Linked DNA regions of Homo sapiens: regions 1, 3 and 4 are each linked to region 2. Evidence: promoter capture Hi-C in human tissues and cell types (Jung and others, 2019). All regions are on one chromosome and are shown on one strand. The core of a region is centred on a gene start or on the middle of the fragment in contact, and the rest is flanking DNA. Distances in the headings are between cores, read along the strand shown. Region 1 has its middle 15 kb from the start of TRA2A. Region 2 holds the start of FAM221A (family with sequence similarity 221 member A). Region 3 overlaps TRA2A (transformer 2 alpha homolog). Region 4 overlaps IGF2BP3 (insulin like growth factor 2 mRNA binding protein 3).

Region 1 (3,424 bases), core at 230-2,729, 130 kb after region 2:
TAGCCTTATTTCGATGCCATAGATAAGTCCTTTATAACATTTTTTAATTTCAATAGCTTTAGGGGTACAAGTGGTTTCTGGTTACATGGATTAATTGTGGAATGGTGAAGTCTAGATGTTTAGTGCACAGGTCACCTGAATAGTGTACATTGTACCGAACAGATAGTTTTTCATCCCTCACGTGCCTTCAACGTCCCCCATCTGTCTCCAGTGTCCATCTGTATGATGCCATAGATAAATATTGCGATTAAAAATATGTGCTGCTGGCCGGGTGCAGTGGCTCATGCCTGTAATCCCAGCACTTTGGGAGGCTGAGATGGGTGGATCACCTAAGTTAAGGAGTTCAAGACCAGCCTGGCTAACATGGTGAAACCCAGTCTTTACTAAAAATACAAAAATTAGCCAGGCATGGTGGCAGGCACCTGTAATCCCAGCTACTCTGGAGGCTGAAGCAGGAGAATCGCTTGAACCCAGGAGGCAGAGGTTGCAGTGAGCTGAGATTGCACCAGTGCACTCCAGCCTGGGCAACAGAACAAGACTCTGTTTCAAAAAAAAAAAAAAAATGTTGCTATATTGTATGATTCCATTTACCTGAAATCCCCAGAACAGGCAATCCATAGAGACATTAAGTAGATTAGTACTTGTCAGAAGATGGGGGGAGGCTGGCAAGTGACTGAATGGGTATAAGGTTTCCTTTTGGTTTAATGTAAATATTCCAGAATTAGGTCATGGTGATGGTAGCACAACATTGTGAATATATTATACTAAAACGCACTGTATTTTACACTTTAAAATGGTTTAAGGTAACCCACTGATTTTTACACTTTAAAATGGTTTAAGGGCTGGCACAGTGACTCCAGCCTGCAATCCCAGCAGTTTGGGAGGCCAAGGCAGGCAGATTGCTTGGGCTCAGGAGTTGGAGACCAGCCTTGGCAACATGGCAAGGCCCCATCACTACAGAAAATACAAAAATTAGCCAGGCATGGTAGCACACACCTGTAGTCCCAGATAATCAGGAGGCTGAGGTGGGAGGATTGCTTGAACCCAGGAGGCGGAGGTTGCGGTGAGCCGAGATCGTGCCACTGTACTCCAGCCTGGGTGATGGAGTCAGATCATGTCAAAAAAGAAAGAAAAGAAAAGAAAAGGCAAGAAGGAAGGAAGGAAGGAAGGAAAGGAGGGAGGGAGGGAGGAAGGAAGGGAGGGAAGGAGGGAAAGACAAAGAAAAGAAAGAAAGAAAGAAAGAGAGAAAGAGAGAGAGAGAAAGAAAGAAAAGGAAGCAAGCAAGCAGGCAGAAAGCAAGGAAGCAGACAGGCTTAAAAGTGATTTGTATGTTATATGAGTTTTTTGTTTTGTTTTGCTTTTTGTCTTTTTGTTTGTTGTTTTGTTTTGTTTTTGTTTTTTGTTTTTTTGAGACATGGTCTCGCTCTCGCCCAGGCTGGAATGCAGTGGCACAGCTCACTGCAGCCTCGACCTCCTGAGCTCAAGTGATCCTCCCACCTCAGCCTCCCAAGTAGCTGGGACCATAGGTGCTCACCACCACGCGTAGATTTTTTTTTTTTTGAGACAAGGTCTCCCCATGTTGCCCAGGCTCCAGGGCTCAAGCGATTCTCCTCTCTCAGGCTTCCAAGGTGCTGGGATTACAGGCGTGAGCCACTGCCCCCTGCCTTGTGATTTTTATTATCTGTTATGCGCCAATATTTTAAATTTAGTATTGTCAAATGTAAGGGAAAATAGAAAGTATCAACTTATATAAATCTGCATAATAATGATGTTAAAAAATGACAAGTTGGCCAAAAGGAGAAATAAAGTGGAAAATGTGTAAGTTTGGGGCACCCATCTGCATCTGGAGACCTCTGTAGCCTGGATCACCGACCTTAAATTTCCAGCATGCTCATACTGCCACCTGGTGGCTGTAGACATTCAAAACAGGCAGCGTCCTGCATTTAGGACTTGTTTCCGTTTCTCACCAATTTCTTTTTCTCTCCAAGCTTGCCCTCTTCTGGTTACAAATGATATGCAAAATAAATTCCTTGACAAGGTTTGAAAACCCAAGTGGTTCAGTGTAGTAAGATCTACTAAGCTACCAAACAGCAACATAGGCTACTCCGCGCACACCGCGTATGGGGTAGCCCTGCTCCGCAAGGGACAGCAAAAAAATAAAAACCAAAAACAGAAACAAAAAGAAAAATAACCTAGCAATATTTTAAATTAAATAAGTGGCAAAGGTAGAATTTCAGGCACACCATTCATTTCTTTTTCTTTCTTTCTTTCTTTTTTTATTTTGAGACGGAGTGTCACTCTGTTGCCCAGGTTGGCGTGCAGTGGCACAATTTCTGCTCACTGCAACCCCCACCTCCGAGGTTCAGGTGATTCTCCTGCCTCAGCCTCCCAAGCATCTGGGATTACAGGTGTGAGCCACCACACCCAGCTAATTTTTGTATTTTTATTAGAGATGGGGTTTCCCCATGTTGGCCAGGCTGGTCTCAAACCCCTGACCTCAAGTGATCCGCCCACCTCGGCCTCCCAAAGTGCTGGGATTACAGGTGTGAGCCACTGTCCTGGGCCTGTTTTTTCAAATAAATATGAGCCTGCTTTGTGCCAGGCACTGTTCCAAATCCTAGGAATATAGCAGAAAATAAAACCAATAAAAATCTTTGCCTTCATGGAGCTTACATTCTTGCCGTGTAGGGCAGAACAGTAAAAATGAATGAACCAGCCAACACCTTGGCTCATACCTGTAGTCCTAGCACTTTGAGAGGCCAAGGCGGGCGGATCACCTGAGGTCAGGAGTTCCAGACCAGCCTGGCCAACATGGCGAAACTGCTTCTCTACTAAAAATACAAAAATTAGCCAGGCATGGTGGTGCAGGCCTATAGTCCCAGCCACTCAGGAGGCTGAGGTGGGAAGATCACTTGAATCTGGGAGGCAGAGGCTGCAATGAACTGAGATCATGCCACTGCACTCCAGCCTGGGCAACAGAGTGAGACTCTGTCTCAAAAACAAAACAAAACAAAACAAAAAAACAGTAATCCAGAGTTACACATATCAACATGAATGCATCTCATAACCTAAATGCTGTGGAGGGAAAGTTATATCAGAAAACATACTATAGTAAACCAGGTATATAAAATGTTTAAATGTGCAAAGCAACATTTTATATATGTGTACATATATACATACATATATATACATACACACACATACATAGATTGCTTAAGGTATATCCCATGAATACACAAGAGTTAAATGTTTAACAACTAGCTTTCTGAAAGAAAGAGGAAAAGAACACTAATTTGTAGATTTGTTGATTTTCATAGTATAAATACTATGCAGTTGATTGATGGATTGGTTGTCCTAATGACATCATCAGACATTATCACTCACTACCTAATGAGATCAAAAATTTGTTGAAATAAACCTACTA
Region 2 (3,113 bases), core at 526-3,025:
GCATGCTTCCCCTCCCAACCGACTCCCACCGAAGTACCTAGGCAAGAGCAAATCCAGGAAAACTCTTCGGAAGGAAAGTTTGTTTCCTTCTAAACTCATATTTTGACTCATCTTCCCACCCCACCTTCCCAGCCCACCTTTTCATATCTAGGTACTCAAGTCCTGTTTTCCCCACTTTTCTAAAATTCTGACGTCAGTAAAGGACCTGATAATCTCTTTCAGAGGGAAGTGTTGCAAGTTATTTACGATTGCAAAAATAATTTCCCAGCCGGGCGCGGTGGCCCAGGCCTGTAATCCCAACACTTTAGGAGGCCGAGGCAGGTGGATAGCTTGAGTCCAGGAGTTCAAGACCAGCCTGGGCAACGTGGTGAAATCCCGTCTCTACAGAAAATACAAAAATTAGCTGGCCGCCTGTAGTCCCAGCTACTCGGGAGGCTGAGGCAGGAGAATCACTTGAACCCAGGAAGCGGAGATTGCGGTGAGCCGAGATCGCGCCACTGCACTCCAGCCTGGGAAAGAGTCAGACCCCGTCTCAATAAAATAAATAACTAAATAATTTCTCAATAAAATAAATAACTACATACATAGGTCTGCCCTAACATGTTCGGAGCTAGGCAAGAGTCAACTGGAGGCCCACAATTCACATATCTAAATATCCAAGTTATCAGTCAACACCAGCTCCAGCAACTTGCTCCCAGGCAAAAGCTCTGGAGAACTGGAGGCTAAAGGAGCCGGCTCTGCTCTGGGAGAGGACGGGATGGTGGTTGTTCTGACCCTGAACCGGGCGTGGGAACTGACCCCATCAAGCTCCTAGCCCTTATTCTTCTGGCTCAGAATATCCAGGCAGTTCTAAGGGTTACCCAAAACTACACAAACAGGGCAGTCAGAGCAGGGGAGAACAGTCAGCTGGGGGGCCGTCTGCGCGCACACCTCTGGGTCATCTGGGCCACCCACGATGCCGCAGAGGAGCCCCTGTCGCTCGCTCCGGCCTCCCTGGCGGAGCCTGGAGCGTCTCCCCTCCGCTTGTACACACACATCCTCCCGCCCCAACTCCGCGTCCTCAGGCGGTCCTCTCCAGGACTTCCCATCCGCCCAGATTCCGGACGATCAAAAACCCCAGGAAGCGGAAAAAGAGCGCGTCGCTGCAGGTGCACCAGCCTCGGTCAGGATCCAGGACAATGAACCGCGTCCTCAGGCCAAAGGAGCGACTCCGTTTCCAGTTTCGGAAGGGGTTTCTCCAGAATACCAAACACCAGTCGGTGCCTTTCTCCTAAAACCAGCACCTCGGGGTGGGGAGCGCGTTCAGAAGTTCACGGTTGACTCAATTACTGGGTTAATTTGATGTATGCTAACTTCTATAGCCCCGAGTACTCGATGTGCCTGTTTTCAATGGCCATTTAAAAAACAGCTGGACCTCTGTATCAATCTAGAGTTAGTCATCCTTCTTGGAAGGGAGCAGAGGGGCCTCTTAAATGTTATTGGAAGACTCATCACTGCATAGAACCGCGTGGCCCTACAATATTTAATTAGGCAAAGACTAAACTGGAATTCATCTAGGCCTCCCCCAACAGCCCAGGCACAGATTCCGGGAACCCCCGCGGACGCCCGCCGGGCCCCTGCTCGCGCCCCCAGCCCAGGGATCCTGGCCCCTCGGAGCGGCGGGGGGGCAGGCCCGGAGCCACAGCCTCACCTCCGGTACTCCAGGTACTCGTCCACCGCCGCCGCGCCGCCGAGAGGCAACGTCAACCGCTCCATTGCCGGTGGGGAAGCCAAAGGCTTCCCTGCGGACCAGCTGACCTCGAAGCCCGACCCGCCCCGTTCCCTCCCGGTACCGCGCCCCCTCCCGCCCGCCTCCTGATTGGCCCGGCCTGAAGCCCGAGGAGGCCGCGCGCGGCAACTGCGCAGGACGCGCGCCCCTACTGGCTGCCGGCGCCAGGCACCAGAACCCGGATCTCCGCAAGCGCAGCCTCGCGCCACATGGAGTGCAGTTTGCCGCCCTCCACAAACCTTGCACCTATTCCCCTCTCCCTTCCCTGGACCGGCGAGTCTTCTTGTAAATTAACAAGTGACAAGGGAGTGCAGTGCCTTGCATATAACAGGCGCATAGAAAATGGCTTATTTCTTTGTACAGCTCTTTTCGCTTAATCCATCTCTTGAAATATAAGTAGTTTTGAGAAGGTTCTGCTTTAGTTTGAGGCCTGCCTCTCCTTAACTGTCGGCCTGTTTCCAGTATTGGCGTTTTCAAAAACTCTGATGTAACAATCAGTAGTCCTGGGTATCTGGGTTCACTTTGGGGGTTGCTAAAGCTACATGTTCTTCAAAGGAACCGAATAACTGATTTAAGGTGAAGCAAGTAAAAACAATTTAGGTGAAGTTTTGTTGTTGTTTTTTAACTTTTGGAAACACTCTGCAAAATATATTTAGAAGCTGAATTACCATGCGATTGGTAATTTGGCCATAATTTGACTTAGCACGTTGTGGAAAAGAATAGGAAATCTTCAGGCGAAGTCATTAAACTCTGAAGCTCCCAGGGGATCAGCTTTAGCGCCCTCTGTAAAGTATCTGGGAGGGAGAATATGCAAACAATAAGAAAAATAATTAAACTTCAGTACAGTACTTTAGTTTCAAAGTACTGTTCTACATATTTCAGGTCCATAAAACATTATGTAAACAAATTGTTTGGGTACCACCCACCTCCCTTCTCGGTACCCTTTCAACAAACCCCACCCTCTCCCCAAAGTCTTCCTCCTGTTCAGAGGCGTTCTTGACAGTCAGATAAATGAGTGATCCTGAAATCGGATTCATATTTTAGGAAACTGATCTCAGCTCAGTATTCTCTCCTATCACACGTGTGGTTTGCTGCTGTCCATTTTACCTCTTCCACCCGACACCTCCCAGATGGGGTCTTGCTCCGTCTCCAAGGCTGGAGTGCAGTGGCGGGATCTCGACTCACTGCAATCTCTGCCTCCTAGGTTCAAGCAATTCTCCTGCCTCAGCCTCCTGAGTAGCTGGGATTACAGGCACTAGCCACCACGCCTGGCTTTTGTGTGTGTGTGTGTGTGTGTATTTTTAGTAGAGACAGGGTTTCACCATGTTGGCCAGGCTGGTCTTGA
Region 3 (3,452 bases), core at 928-3,427, 150 kb after region 2:
GCTTATTCAGCGTCTTTAGCAATTTAATTCCATATATCATCAAATTGACCTTACATAAGGGTAAAGCTTTCTTTCTTATAGTAGGGATAGTGTTAACCTAAGAGAGTCTTGGGTTTAATCTATTTTCCTAAATTTAAGTACTATCATTTATCTGATTTTAATGCTTTCAGTTGTTCTCCTCTCCCCTTCCATTTAAGCAAAGAATTTGTAAACTTAAAAAAAATTAAAATCTCAAATTTTTATATTTGAGGTTCTTTCACTGAAGGATGTTGATCTGCTCAATATAAGTAGAGGGCAAGATTTTGAAAAGGAGCAGTGCAAGTAATTATACCCACAGCGCATAACTAATTTTACAGATCTGTCATAGAGGCTTATACTTTGTACCACTCATTAAATGGAATATAGAACCTTGAGATCTGAAAGAATGTCCAGGGATTTAAATATTTAGGGATGTGTGGTTTGGAAAACACTTTGTCTGTGGGCTTAATTTTGTAAATCAACCAAACTCTAACCTACGATGTAGCATGTGTATTATAAGAAGTGTGAAATGTCATCAATAATCAGCATAGTAGTTTCCTAGAACTTGACTGGCAGAAAACTTTCTTTGATAGTATCAGTGGGTGCTCACCCATTAGATAACTAAAAGATGTGTATTCACGTGCTAATGAATTAAAACTGATTGCTATTTGTTCATATGTCCTCACAAATTTAGCAAGACAGGCATGGAGGTGAAAAAAATAGTAACAACTAGATGAGGGAAAGATTGTATACACTGAAGAAAAGTTGAGAGGAGAATACTAAAGGGAAATATGGTTTCCCTTCCCTCCTTTTAAGTTACTTATATATATAGTTATATATAATCCTTACTGTCCCATGACTTTCACCAAAGATGGAGTGACTAGGCCTGACTGATATGTAGAAGAAAAGTTGTGATCTTTCCTTGAAACCAGGACCCTATCATCTGACTTACCAAGATTCATAAATACTGTATAACTCCAGAAGATTAGAACATAATGTTAAATCACATTAGTCCTTACAAACTTGTTTTTTCTACCTTTGAAATTGCCACTTATACATTAGTTTTTTGAACATTACAATTGATCAGGATATATAAGCTATGAGACTTATGAACCACGTTTAAAATTTGTACAAAAGATTATAAATTTTACAGGTGATTTCACAATTATGGCATGAGTTTAAATTTGATTATATGTGGGTGTCAGTTACTAAATCATGTATTTATGATAAGACTTCTAAATTTTAGAGAATAAGGAAACATACAGAATTAGAATATGTTTGAGTCTTTGCAGATAAAGACCACATTGACTTCAGAATGCAGCATATAGGCATGCTGCATTTAAAAGAAGGGAAATTATTATTTCAATTTAATATGAGCAGTCGCTATCTTCTTTTTAAGGGATTTGTTCTAATAGCAGTTACGGTTTAAGAAGATAATGGAAGTGTTGCTTTAACTTCATAGGGGTCTGTAAGAGTATTCTCCCATACTCAAGGGGAAGGAAGCAGAACTGTTGTTCTTTCTATAGGCTGAGGTTGAGTAAATACAGGTTTTTTACAACTCCTAAAGAAGTTCTTTAGTAAGTAGTAAAATGAATATTGTAAGGTATTTGAATAATTTCGGTACATTTCCCTTCTTTTTGGGTACTTGTGATTTTCCTCAATGCACTAGTGTGTATCTATGGAAATAGAGCGCCAGTGTCATAAAGTAGCAGGAAAATACATTTTTAGTAAGTCTGTTTTACAAGCTTATACTCATAGACTTGGACTTGAGTAAATTTGGCCCTATTAAATGGCATAGAATTTGCCTGGCCTTAATGTTAGAGTAAGTTACAGTATAGCATTTAATAGTTTATTTATTTTAATGGATAGCACATATATATATTGTGTTGGAATTTCTTTTTATAGTATGACACAGGCTATATTAAAAGACTGCAGTTATTGCTTGCTGTAGGAATTGTTCATGTTCCGCAACATTGTGTACATGTATATAATAACCCTTTTCCTGATTAAAAGAATAGTACATGGTTATTGTGGTTATTCACAGTGTGTAAAATACAACTCTATTTTAACACAGAAAGACAATTCTTAACCAGCTTGTATTGGTTACACTATAACACTTTCTTAGTGTTTTAGTTAGTTCCCTCCTTTTAATTTTTGGCCATTTCCTTCAACCAACAGCAGGGTCATCTTGATAATAAAGAATAGTTTAAACAAGCAGGCCGGGTGCAGTGGCTCATGCCTGTAATCCCAGCACTTTGCGAGGCTGAGGCGGGTGGATCACTTGAGGTCAGGAGTTCGAGGCCAGCCTGGCCAATGTGGTGAAACCCCGTCTCTACTAAAATAAAATACAAAAGTTAGCCAGGTGCGATGGCGGGTGCCTGTAATCCCAGCTACCCAGGAAGCTGAGGCAGAATTGCTTGAACCCAGGAGTTGGAGGTTGCAATGAGAAGATTGTGCCACTGCACTCCAGCCTGGGTGACAGAAAAACCAAACAAGCAAATAAACATCAAAACAAAAACCTGTTAAAGCAGGTTGTGCTGTGAGAAGAACTTTTCTGCCTGGCTTCTGCTTTATAGCCTATAAGATAGACTGGAGGCCTATTTAAGACTTTTGTTAAAATTCATGATACGAGTTGAGTTATTAATCTGCCCATTTAAACCGGGCAGTGTATTTTTAATGGTTATTGGATGCAGGAGCCAGATTACTGAGGAAATGGTAGGATTCCTTGACTGGACAGCTTTAAGAACAAGTAGTCTAGTGAAACAGGGCAGATACCACCCATTCCCAGCAATCTTTTTTGTTTGCAATTTCAATTCATTTTCCAAATTGTGGATAGTTTTATGAATTTCTTTGAGAAAAAGTTGAAATTATTTCATAATGAAGACGAGTCAGAGAGAAAAGGATTAGCCTAGCATTTGTCCTCTTTATATAAAGGACTTCTTATAGCCTGATTCCTAATGCAGAGTTCAGTGAAAGTGACATTTATTTGGTAACAGCTTTTGAGAAATGTTACTTTATTTCTAAATAATTATATACTTGGCAGTTTATTCTTCCAGTTAAGTTTACTAATAGTTACTGATTTGTTAATATAAGTTTGTAAGTTGTTTTTGAAAGTTAAAATGAAGCTGGGTGTGGTGGCTCACACCTGTAATCCCAGCGCTTTGGGAGGCCAAGGCGGGCAGATCAAGGAGTCAGGAGATGGAGACCAGCCTGGCCAACATAGGGAAACCCTATCTCTACTAAAAACACAAAAATTAGCTGGGTGTGATGGCGTGCACCTGTAAGCTGAGCTACTCAGGAGGCTAAGGCAGGAGAATCGCTTGAATCCGGGAGGCGGAGGTTGCAGTGAGCTGAGATCAGGTGCCACTGTACTCCAGCCTGAGCTACAGAGCAAGACTCCATCTCAAAAAAAAAAAAAATAGTTAAAATCATAG
Region 4 (3,561 bases), core at 220-2,719, 250 kb after region 2:
GACTACACGTACCCGCCACCACACCTGGCTAATTTTTGTACTTTTAGTAGAGATGGGGTTTCACCATGTTAGCCAGGATGGTCTCATCTCCTGACCTCGTGATCCACCTGCCTCGGCCTCTCAAAGTGCTAGGATTACAGGCAGGAGCCACCACGCCTGGCCCATTTTCAGGATTTTTGTGTTTAATTGGCAAATATGTCATAGGTGAGAAAAGGGAAAATTTTAATACTTTGGCCAAGGTTTTATTCATTCAAGGAAATGATGGATTAATGTGACTGAGTTCAAATTTGGGAAAATACTGATGTAGTTGGGGAAGCATGTTGCACTTAAGTGAAAGTTTTTTTTTAACTTGTTTGTCCTTAAGTGTGGTAAACATACCTGTTCTATCTCACTAGAAGGAAAAAGAGCTTAGTAATCAGGAACAATTTGCTGCTATTGGAGACTGGTAACGTAGCATTGCATTTGCATTGTGTTTTCTGCTAGGAGAAGGGTTATCTACAAAGCCTAGTGAAATTATATCTTGGGAGAAAAGAAAGAGTTGAGTTACCTAGGATGAGGAATGTCAGGCAGAAATATTTAGATCAAACTTGTCAACCTTTTGTTTTGTTGATACATTGGAGTTCTCAGAGTGCGTGAAACTGAGAATTCTCATACTGAGTTTCTTGAACACAATTATTTGCTTATTTTCTTTGCCTACTTGTAGAAAACATTAAAAATGGAAATATAAACAAGTCTGGCTGTGTAAGTCTACCTCTGGGAAACAGTCTTCAAGCTTTGGGGTGGTGAGATTATTATAGTTTCTAAAGTTGATGAGAAGGTGGTATAATTTGATAATGATCAACTGCAACTTTCCCACGAACAAAAACAAACCCAAGGATCTGCCTTGTCTAAGAACCACATCCACTTAGCAGTAATACGAAATAAAAACTGTTAATGTAGACATACCCCGTATTCAAAATACAGTGGTTTTAAAAGTTTAGTAATCTTAAAACACCTCTTCTTGCAGGTACAGTTTTAGTGATGGTTACTTTTATGTGGAAAATACGTATTCCATATAAAACTTTTTCTTTTTTTTTTTTTTTTTAATTTTAATTTTTCCAGACAGAGTCTCACTCTGTCTCCCAGGCTGGAGTGCAGTGGCACAATCTTGTCTCACTGTAACCTCTGCCTTCCAGGTTTAAGCGATTCTCTTGCCCCAGCCTCCCAAGTAGCTGGGATTACAGGCACACGCCTCCGTGATGCCCGGCTAATTTTTGTATTTTTAGCAGAGATGGGCTTTCGCCATGTTGGCCAGACTGGTCTTGAACTCTTGATCTCAGATGATCCTCCCGCCTCGGCCTCCCAAAGTGCTGGGTTTATAGGCATAAGCCACTGTGCCCGGCCTAAAACTTTTTCTTGATTGTTCTTCAAATTCCCTTGACAAACAAATTAAATTTAATCAATTAGTTTTAGATAAGCTCTGTTCAATAGAAATACATGAACTAAATATATATGATTTTAACTTTTTAGTAGCCACATTAAGTAAAACAAAGGCCCAGTGTGGTGATGTGTGCCTGTATCCTAGCTGACTGGGAGGCTGAGGTGGGAGAATTGCTTGAGCCCAAGAGGTTGAGGCTGCAGTGAGCTATGGTCGTGCCACTACAGTTTGGGCGAGAGAGCAAAAACCCTGTCTCAAAAAAAAAAAAAAAATTAGTTATTATATACAACCTAATATATCTAAAATGTAACAGTATAATAAATTGTTGAGAAATTTTGCTTTTTTTGGTATTGAATCTTCAACATCTGTATGTATTTTATCCTTACAGAACGATTCAATTCAGACTAGCCACATTTCAAGTAGTTAGACACATGTGGCTAGTGGCTTCTTTATTGGACAGAGCAGCTTAAGATGTACGGTTTCTAAAAATCACTGTTTAAAAATATCTTGTTGCTGGGAAAAAAATATAATGATATTTATAAAACTAGTTTTAGCTATGGAAAAGTATGGGAATAATTAATTTTCAGTGCTACTCAAGCATGTTAGAGGTTTTATATCCAAGTTCTTTATTCCTTTCTTACCACTCTAATTTTTTAGGAAGATAAGTACAATTTACTATATTGTGTTAATATTAAGACTTTTGAAAGAGCTATGCTTTTAGGTCATACAGGCAGTGAGGCTTTTATTTAAATAGTAACTGTTCAACTGCGTGTGTTTCTGTGGTTGTAATACTGGTGGTGACTTTTTAGTTTAAAGGCACATATACAGGCTGGGCGCAGTGGCTCATGCCTGTAATCCTAGCAGTTTGGTAGGCCGAGGCAAGTGGATTGCTTGAGCCCAGGACCAGTCTGGGCAACGTGGTGAAACCACAGCTTATGAAAAATACAAAAATTAGCTGGGTGCGGTAGCGCATGCCTGTAGTCCCAGCTACTTGAGGGGCTGAGGCAGGAGGATCTCATGAACCTCGGAGGTTGAGGCTGCAATGGGCAGAGATCATGCCGTTTGCACTCCAGTCTGAGCAACAGAGCAAGACCCTCTCTCCACCAAAAAAAAAAAAAAATTAAAAAATGAAGCACATTTACTTAGTTAAAATCTCAGTATGAAGACTATAAAAATCTTTGGTTATTTAGGGATCAAGGATTAGTTTGTGCCCTGTTTTTTTTGTTTGTTTGTTTTTTTCCTGTTTGACATTCTACATTAAGATGTGCGTGCCCTTCTAGTAGTCACATTAAGAAGTAAAACAAAGGCCCAGTGTGATGATGTGTGCCTGTATCAATTGTCTTTCGAACAGTGTTAGGTTTTCCTAACTTGCACATGTCCTAAGGAAGTATAAAAACTTTGACTATGTTTCTTCAAGGAACATTTAATCTTCTAAAAGAAAGACATAGCAGTGTGTAAATGCAAGCAAACAATAGTAGTAAGAGAGTACGTAGAAAAACATTCAGTCTTTTTTGGACTCTTCTAGTGCATACTCATGGCGTCAGTCAAGTTTTCATCCATGCACGTCTGGCTGTCAGACTCTGTTCTACATAGATGGAGATAACGTGTGCAAATGTAAAAGATAAAATATACCTCTGTTTTAGTTAACGGGACTAAAACATAGCTGTTACCATGGAGATCTGGGAGCTGGGGATAATGGAAAAAACCATGTTTAGATTCTCACTTAGAACTGTGATGTAAAGAGACTTTGTTCCCTTGCTCATTGTTTAAGTAATATTGAATAATTGCCTGAGATGAGCTAAGCAATCTGTTAACCAGTGGAATGTGCAACAGTGAATAAAACAAGTAATTTTGCCTTTGAGACTCGCCCTGTTAACTATACCACAGTGGCCACCAATCCATAAGAGAGAGAGAGAATGTGTGTGTGTGGGTTGGCGGGGGAGGGGCCAAGTTCCCCTGCCCCACCCCCAGAAATTACGATTTAAGTCTGTTTTGGGGCCCTGGAATCTGCATTTTAGTTAGTCCCTTGTGGTGATTCTAACATAGGTGGTTCTCGGACCATAATTGAAGGACATCTCTTTATTTTACGGTGTAGGGGACCTTGTAATCTTTTTTTTTTCCCCCTTCCTTCCTCCTGTTCAGTT

The links. The method cuts DNA at HindIII sites, captures the fragments that hold promoters and counts their contacts. A contact is called where the count stands out against the background at its distance.
Region 1: a contact is called between a fragment that was not itself captured here and the fragment with the promoter of FAM221A in region 2, in 5 of the 25 tissues and cell types used here (aorta, bladder, hippocampus and 2 more).
Region 3: a fragment that was not itself captured here is called in contact with the fragment with the promoter of FAM221A in region 2 in 2 of the 25 tissues and cell types used here (dorsolateral prefrontal cortex and spleen).
Region 4: a contact is called between a fragment that was not itself captured here and the fragment with the promoter of FAM221A in region 2, in 1 of the 25 tissues and cell types used here (thymus).

The regions. Positions count from the first base shown.
Region 1 is chr7:23,545,658-23,549,081 of GRCh38, reverse strand. No RefSeq gene overlaps it. Among named protein-coding and RNA genes, the nearest start is that of TRA2A, 15 kb to the right of the region's middle. The HindIII fragment of the contact is 8,662 bases long and covers 1-3,424 here.
Region 2 is chr7:23,678,861-23,681,973 of GRCh38, reverse strand. It overlaps FAM221A (family with sequence similarity 221 member A), which reads right to left and starts at 1,775. Exons shown (of 7, transcript NM_199136.5): 1 at 1,691-1,775. The coding sequence starts at 1,755. RefSeq lists an enhancer at 972-1,221 and a silencer at 1,552-1,841. The HindIII fragment of the contact is 14,044 bases long and covers 1-3,113 here.
Region 3 is chr7:23,524,679-23,528,130 of GRCh38, reverse strand. The region is part of intron 1 of TRA2A (transformer 2 alpha homolog); the gene reads left to right. Among named protein-coding and RNA genes, the nearest start is that of TRA2A, 5.6 kb to the left of the region's middle. The HindIII fragment of the contact is 5,751 bases long and covers 1-3,452 here.
Region 4 is chr7:23,431,615-23,435,175 of GRCh38, reverse strand. All of the region lies in intron 2 of IGF2BP3 (insulin like growth factor 2 mRNA binding protein 3), which reads left to right. Among named protein-coding and RNA genes, the nearest start is that of SNORD65C, 37 kb to the right of the region's middle. The HindIII fragment of the contact is 3,324 bases long and covers 1-3,131 here.